Regions from separate parts of the Homo sapiens genome. Here region 2 is linked to region 1. Evidence: promoter capture Hi-C in human tissues and cell types (Jung and others, 2019). All regions are on one chromosome and are shown on one strand. Each heading gives the region's core, a stretch centred on a gene start or on the middle of the fragment in contact. The rest is flanking DNA. Distances are from core to core; before and after follow the strand shown. Region 1 holds the start of SULT1A2 (sulfotransferase family 1A member 2). Region 2 holds the start of SPN (sialophorin).

Region 1 (4,094 bases), core at 1,514-4,013:
GCACCAGCTTAGTCCCAGGGGCAAGGATTTTAAACCCCCACCTCCATTTCCTCATCTGTAAGATGCAAATAACAGTCACCTCTGCCTCACGGGATGGAGCTGTGTAATGCCCGGAACAGTGCCTGCTGCATAGAGGGGTTGCTGCCAGCTGCCTCTCCCTCCTTGTCTCTTACCTGCCTGCTGCCTGGGACAGGATGAAGCGGGGCCCTTGTGTTGCCCCAACCCTGGCTGTTGGCTAAGAGCCCACGTGATCTGCCTGTGAGAGGAGTTCCTTCCGGAAGAACCAGGGCAGCTTCTGCCCCTAGAGGGCCAATGCCCTAGCTGAGTGCAGTCCCCCGGCCCCAGCCTGGTCCAGCTTTGGGAAGAGGGTGCCCAGTTGTGCAATCCAGGCCGGGGCAGCCGTGTCCTGATCTTGGTATTCAGGGCTGAGCCTGGAGGGGGCTTGTGATGCCTGACTCTGTCTCTCTCTCTGGCCCCATGCCTTGGTAGCTGTGAGGCGTCACTGCTTTGGGTGACCTGATCTGGCTGTGATGGATGAGCACGGGGGAAATAGTGGAAGACTCGGAATTAGAAGACGTGAGTGGGCTTTGGCCCCAGCCTCCCTACCCCACTCCCTGTCCTGGGCTGCCTGTGACCAACCTTGTTTCTGCAGGCACACTGGATAGCCCTGCTGGAGCTCAGTGTCCCTAATCCCCTCCAGATACTGGTGGCCTAGGGGAGGTCATCAAAGACCGGTGGGACATCGACCTCAGCCCGTTTCCACGCTTTTTTTTGTTTTGTTTTGTTTTTTTGAGACCGAGTTTCACTCTTGTTGCCCAGGCTGGAGTGCAATGGCGTGATCTTGGCTCACCGCAACCTCCGCCTCCCGGGTTCAAGCGATTCTCCTGCCTCAGCCTCCCAAGTAGCTGGGATTACAGGCGTGTGCCACCAGGCTTGACTAATTTTCTATTTTTAGTAGAGACAAGGTTTCTCCATGTTGGTCAGGCTGGTCTCAAACTCCCGACTTCAGGTGGTCTGCCTGCCTCGGCCTCCCAAAGTGCTGGGATTACAGGAGTGAGCCACCGTGCCAGGCCTTCTCCAGGCTCTTGGCACCTTAGCCAGAAACAATTTAAGGACAAGTGCAAAAGTCATGAACGTAGGCAGATTTCCTGCAGAGTAAAGGGACTCACTGAAGAAGAGGAACGTGGGGGTCCTCAAGAGAGTGTCTCATGCCCTACAAGGTGTGGGGCTGACCTTTATGGGCTTCTTCAACTAAAGAGGGGTATATTCATGAAGATTCCAGGAAAAGGTAAAGATTTCTCAAGACCGTGGTGCCACAATTTACACCCAAATACAGGTGTTCCTGGAGCCGTCTTGGCACTGGTGGGTGTACGGTTTCATATGTTACTGATTGTACAGTGAGATCCTAGGTGAAACCTACATCAAATACAGCGCCATGTTGCTTCTGGTTGGTCGCAGCCAGCTTGGTCCTCATCCTATTTTTCAGGGACTTATTGGCCCTTGGCACATGCAGCTATTTCAAGTTTCCTTCTTCTGGTCATGTGAAACTGCTGCCTGGGATTTTCTGTTGTCTTGCTAGCACTCTATTAATCTCACATTCTCGCCTCTTTTCTGTGCCACCCCCTGCTGGTCCGGCTGGTTTTCACTAGAGTGCAATACAAAGTCTCAGTCAAGAGGGCCTCCTGAAGGTTGCTGAGGGCAGGGGTGGAGCTAGTAGCCGGAGGACCTGCCAGTCATGGGGATTCCTCAGGGGCACAGAGGAGGGAGGAGGGGCCTGTGGCCCTAGCAGGGGAGCAGCCTCTCCTCTGCCTGGAAATCCCATGCCTCAGTTTTCCCCGCTTGCCTCTGAGCTCACGCAACCCTGGGAAGGCTTGGGAGACTCACCTTTACTCAGATGGTTGTTTACCTGTCTCGTGCCCAGCTTGACCCTGGACTTTAAATAGTGAGGACAAAGAACGAGGAGGGTGGGGGGATGCACTCCTTCCACGGGGCCCTGTGGCTTCCAAGCCTCAACCTCCTCTGGCCTCTGTCTGTGGAGCCTCCTTCAAACCCATGGAAAGAAAAGTACCTGCCAGGGGCTGTGGTTCTTCTAGGATCTTCTATCGATGTTCTGTGAGGTCCCCAGGGAGCCATGAAGCTGGGGCTGGCTCCCAGGGCAATGGGACTGCAGTGTCCTTGTTCTTTCTTGTTCTATGGATCCATGCTCTGCTCCACCCCTGCCCCTTCACTCTGCCCACACGCATCACTCCAGACTGGCCTTGTGGTCAGAGCCTGGAGTGCATGGGCTGCTGGAGGCCTGTGGGTTGCACTGGGCCAGGACCCCTGGCACCTTCAAGACTGGCCTGGAGCCAGCAGGTAGGTGACCTTTCCAGGGCCTGCCTATCCCATCTTTCTCCTCCAATCCCTCCCCTCTCTTGCCTGGGTCAATTAGAGAAAGCTTGTCTTTTGGAGTTCAGGGGCAGGTCAGGAGCCCAGTGACAGCTCAAAAAAAAAAACCCACAAAAACAAACCCACCATTGGGCCCTTTCCCCTTTCATTCTTCTGTTTTCTACACACCAAACCCAGTCGTGGCTTTGGAGATCACTTTAAGCTTGTCTCCAGCTGGCAAACTAAGGAGGGTAATAGAGAAGCTCCCCCACCCCCAACCCTACCCCTTCCTTCCGGAAGCAAATCTAAGTCCAGCCCCGGCTCCAGATCCCTCCCACACTGACCTAAGAAACCCTCAGCACAGACAACACCCCTGCATTCCCCACACAACACCCACACTCAGCCACTGCGGGCGAGGAGGGCACAAGGCCAGGTTCCCAAGAGCTCAGGTGAGTGACACACCGGAATGGCCCAGGACGCCCTCACCCTGCTCAGCTTGTGGCTCCAACATTCCAGAAGCCGAGGCCTCTGCTATCCCTGCCCTCTCCCCATGGATATCCCATTTCAGACAACCCCGGCCGGCCTGAATCCCCCTCCCTTCCTTTTTTTTTTTTCCGGGGAGGCCAGGTCTTGCTGTCACCGAGGCTGGAGTGCTGTGGGATCCTGGCCACTGCAGCCTTGAATTCCTGGGCTCAAGTGATTCTCCTGCCTCAGTAGCTAGGACTACAGACCCTCACCATCCTGCCTGGATAGTTTTAAAAAATATTTTTAAAAGATTTTTAGAGATGGGGTCTTCCAATGCTGCCCAGATTGGTCTCCAAATTCTGGCCTCAGCCTCCCTAGGGTCTGGGATTACAGGTGGGAGCCACCCTGCCCAGGATCCTCCTTTTGCTGAGTCATCACAGTTTTGCTCATTCCCACATCAGGCTCTGGCCCCCAATACCAGCTCAGTTGCTCAATGGGCTGTTTGTCCTGGAGCCCAGATGGACTGTGGCCGGGCAAGTGGATCACAGGCCTGGCCAGCCTAGGAGTTGCCACATGTGAGGGGCCGAGGGGCTCAAGGAGGGGAACATCGGGGAGAGGAGCCTACTGGGTGGAGGCTGGGGGTCCCAGCAGGAAATGGTGAGACAAAGGGCGCTGGCTGGCAGGAAGACAGCACAGGAAGGTCCTAGAGGTTCCTCAGTGCAGCTGGACTCTCCTGGAGACCTTCACACACCCTGACATCTGGGCCCCGCGCCACGAGGGTGCTTTCACTGGTCTGCACCATGGCCCAGGCCCTGGGATTTTGAACAGCTCCGCAGGTGAATGAAAGGTGAGGCCAGGCTGGGGAACCACCACATTAGAGCCCGACCTGGTTTTCAGCCCCAGCCCCGCCACTGACTGGCCTTGTGAGTGCGGGCAAGTCACTCAGCCTCCCTAGGCCTCAGTGACTTCCCTGAAAGCAAGAATTCCACTTTCTTGCTGTTGTGATGGTGGTAAGGGAACGGGCCTGGCTCTGGCCCCTGACGCAGGAACATGGAGCTGATCCAGGACATCTCTCGCCCGCCACTGGAGTACGTGAAGGGGGTCCCGCTCATCAAGTACTTTGCAGAGGCACTGGGGCCCCTGCAGAGCTTCCAGGCCCGGCCTGATGACCTGCTCATCAGCACCTACCCCAAGTCCGGTAGGTGAGGAGGGCCACCCACCCTCTCCCAGGTGGCAGTCCCCACCTTGGCCAGCGAGGTCAT
Region 2 (3,867 bases), core at 203-2,702, 1.1 Mb before region 1:
CCCCGGACCCTCCCACGGTCACTGTCACGGCCCCCTCCTCAGGGACCTGGGCTGGCCCAGCCCAGGCGTCCACCACCCCGTTACGCTTGCCGCCTCTGCTCAGCACGAGGGCCCCAGTCCGCCGCTTCTGCCGCCGGCGCCACAGCAGGAGCAGAGCCACGAGGACTATGACCGCCAGCAGGGCCACAAGCACAGCCACTGGCAGCATGCCTCGTGAGTTCTCATCTGGGTTCCGGAAGGGCACAGTGCTTGCGTTGGTGGAGGTCGTTGGAGACATCATTGTAGATAGTTTTACGCTAGAGACCTGGGGTCCACTGGCCCCGCTGGAGGGCTCCAGAGAGCCAGTTGTCATGGTAACAGGGGGTCCAGTGGTCCCAGTGGAGGTCTCCAGAGAGTCAGTTGCCATGGTAACAGGGGGTCCAGAGGTGCCTTTGGAAGTCTCCAGAGAGACAGTTGCCATGGTAAGAGGGGGTCCAGAGGTGCCTCTGGAGGTCTCCAGAGAGCTAGCTGCCGTGGTAACAGGGGCTCCACTGGTCCTACTGGAGGTTTCTGGAGAGTTCGTTGTTATGGTTCCACCTGTCACGGTGTGGGATCCTAGAGAGTTTGCTGTTATGGGAACAGCAGGATGACTGGTTGCATGAGGGGTTTCCTGGGGCACTGATGACATCTTGATGGAAACTTCCTGGTAGGTTGTTGGCTCAGGTAAAGGGGAACCAGTGCTGGCACCAATGGAAGTCCAAAGAGGGGATCCCTCATTGATGGAAGTTGAGGGAGGTAGGGCTGAGGTCTGGTCCCCAGTGCTGTCGGCCTTAGGGTCACTTGTTATTGAAGTGGTGTACATCTTTGAGCTCAGGGGCTCGCTAGTAGAGACCAAAGGCTCTCCGGAGGTGGGTGTCTGCACTGCTGTTGTGCTCCCCAGAGCGTCTGGGCTTACCACCAGCACCCCAAGGAGAAGGAGAAGCGTGGCCATTTCCAGGCAAACAGGCAGGAGCAAGAGCTGGGACCTGCAGGTGGGCAGCCGGAGAAGCAGAACACGCGGGAGTTGCCGGAGGACCTGGCCGGGCCTCCCCTCTGCCCACTTCCCTGCCAACGGCCAGGCCCAACCTGCGGTTTAACGGTTTTTTCCATGCTGGCTTTTACTGTTATCAGAAATGACAGAGGAACAGATGCTGGCAGCTCCCCCATCAGCCCCATCCTGAGGCTCCCTCCAGCCTCAGCAGCTTAGATTCCAGCAGTGACCAGCCCCTCCTGGCCTTCCCTGACCCTGTGCAGCCCAATGGCTCCCAATCTCTTCCCATCATAACCTGTCAGAGTCTTTTCAAGCCACAGGCACATTCCCAGGCCCACTGAGGCCCCTACCCCACCAAGTCTCACCCTCTTACCGGCTCGGCTGATAAGGACGCAGCACTGGGGCCAGGTCACTCCACCACCTCCCGAGGCTGGGGCAAGACTGGGAAGGACAGGGCCCCAAGGGGAAAGGAAGTGGGCCCTGGCTCCACCCACCCCACCCACCCCTCCATCCTGCCCCACCCGCCTGCTCCCACAGCTGCTGGGCGAAGACAGCACCATCACCTGCTCCTTCAGGGGCCAGCGGGGTGCCTGGGGGTCTGGGGCTCACCTGAGGGAGGCAGGGAAGCGTGGGATCTGGAATCAGGATTCCTGGCTCTTGGCTGAGGAATGGGATGGAAGTGGTGATGCTAGGGAGGGCTGGGCTCAGAGGTGGGTGGTGGGAATGTGAGCCTGAGAACTCAAGGGTGCAGAGGAGGAGGTGGGAGGGGAGGGTGGTTTCCTTTGCATTTGTGGTCCCCAAGCTGTTAGGCCAGGAGCTGAGTGGCGCCATTTCCTGCCCTCAGAGCTCCCAGGAAGTAGCAGGGCAAGAGGAAGCCCCCGAGTCTGGCTGGGGGCCGTGAAAACCTTTGCAGGCTGGTGAGCTCTTGACTCTGTCCGGGGAGCTGGGGGTCACCACAGTGGCCCCCAGTCACAGAGACGTGGCTAAACCAAGGTGGTTCCTACACACTGCATATGCTAGGATCTTATTTCTGCAAACTAGTAAAGATGTGGGAATCTTTTTTTTTTTTTTTAAGGCGGAGTTTAGTGCAATGGCATGATCTTGGCTCGGCTCAGCACAATGTCTGCCTCCTAGGTTCAAGCAATTCTCCTGCCTCGGCCTCCTGAGTAGCTGGGATTACAGGCTTGCACCACTGTGCCCGGCTAATTTTGTATTTTTCGTAGAGACGAGGTTTCTCCATGTTGGTCAGGCTGGTCTCGAACTCCTGACCTCAGGTGGTCCATCCGCCTCAGCCTCCCCAAGCGCTAGGATTACAGGTGTGAGCCACCGCGCCTGGCCAGATATGGGAATCTATATGGAAAACCGTCTGGAAAGATATCTACTAAGGGATTCACCTAATTGTCTTTGGATAGGTGAGAGTAGGAGGTGGGGGTATTTTCTTCTTTGAATGGTTCCCATTTCCTGACTTTCCTCTAATTAGCAAGCTTTGACTCTCGGTTTGTGTATGTTTTTGGTTTTTGTTCTTGAAAAACGAAAATCAGTCCCGGGTGTGGTGATACATTATGCTGGCAGTCCAGGCCAAAGTGGGAGGACCTCCTGAGCCCAAGAGTTTGAAACCAGCCTGGGCAACGTAGCAAAACTCCTATCACTAAAAAAATAAATAATTTTTTAAAATCAAAACTGATTTGTATATTTTAAGAGCAACATGTGCACAATAGAAGATTCTAACAGGCCCGTGGGACTGTGCCATTTCTACAAGCTGATGAGTTTGTCTGACCCAAAGACATGAGACTCCTGGGTGAGAGCCACAGGAATTAATTGCTCACACCAAGCAACAGCAGCGTGATGTTTGCATCAGTTCCCCTTACCCCAAGTCCCACGGGGGCAACATGGAAGGGCCCAGACTGACACCATGCACACAGTGGGCCTGCACCGCAGCCATAGAGCTCTGAGCTTGAGAGATTCCCCTCCTCTAGGGGCCCTGGTAAGCCCAGGTTCCCACAGGGAGACGTGTCTTCATCCCTCGGGTGTGCTCACTGCAAACACAGCACTGAAAAATGGCTTGAGTACAAAGTATTCAGAGGCTGAGCGTGGTGGTTCACGCCTGTAATCCCAGGACTTTGGGAGGCTAAGGCAGGCTGATCACTTGAGGTCAGGAGTTCGAGACCAGCCTGGCCAACATGCTCTCTTTTCTGCGCACAGTGGCTCAGAAAGGTAACGGGGTGCCCATTCTGCAGGGGGGATGAGGGACACAGGAGCAAAGGAGTATAGACTAGAGGGCTGCAGAATCAGGCCCTACAGACTTCCTGTCCTACCACCACCATCTTCCAGCTGCATGACCTTGAACAAGCACATAACTTCTCCAATGCCCTAGGACCGCCACCTTCTTCATGAAGTGACTGCAAGAATTAAATGAGATAATGTTAAGTGCACAGAAAAGCAGCTACCAGCACGGGACTCTGGGTTCCTGTCCTACCTCTTGCACTTGGGCAAGTGCCTTAATCTCCTTATCCCTCTGTTGCTTTGTATAAATGGCGATAATTATGGTAATACCACATAGTTTGTTTTGATGATTAAGAGTTAATACATATAAACGGCTGGGCACGGTGGCCCATGCCTGTAAGCCCAGCACTTTGGAAGGCCGAGGCAGGCAGATCACCTGAGGTCAGGAGTTCGAGACCAGCTTGGCCAACATGGTGAAACCCCGTCTCTACTAAAAACACAAAAAATTAGCTGGGCATGGTGGCGGGCGCCTACAATCCCAGCTACTCGGGAGGCTGAGGCACGAGAATCGCTTCAACCCAGGAGGTGGAGGTTGCAGTGAGCAGAGATTGTGCCACTGCACTCCAGCCTGGGCA

The links. The method cuts DNA at HindIII sites, captures the fragments that hold promoters and counts their contacts. A contact is called where the count stands out against the background at its distance.
Region 2: a contact is called between the fragment with the promoter of SPN here and the fragment with the promoter of SULT1A2 in region 1, in 1 of the 25 tissues and cell types used here (dorsolateral prefrontal cortex).

What each region holds. Positions count from the first base shown.
Region 1 is chr16:28,595,719-28,599,812 of GRCh38, reverse strand. SULT1A2 (sulfotransferase family 1A member 2) reads left to right here and starts at 2,763. Exons shown (of 8, transcript NM_001054.4): 1 at 2,763-2,816; 2 at 3,879-4,030. The coding sequence starts at 3,883. RefSeq lists enhancers at 1-362, 363-897, 2,531-2,825. The HindIII fragment of the contact is 13,947 bases long and covers 1-4,094 here.
Region 2 is chr16:29,660,832-29,664,698 of GRCh38, reverse strand. It overlaps SPN (sialophorin), which reads right to left and starts at 1,452. Exons shown (of 2, transcript NM_003123.6): 1 at 1,383-1,452; 2 at 1-1,004. The coding sequence starts at 970. RefSeq lists silencers at 348-467, 1,728-1,787 and enhancers at 1,968-2,047, 2,688-2,737. The HindIII fragment of the contact is 34,536 bases long and covers 1-3,867 here.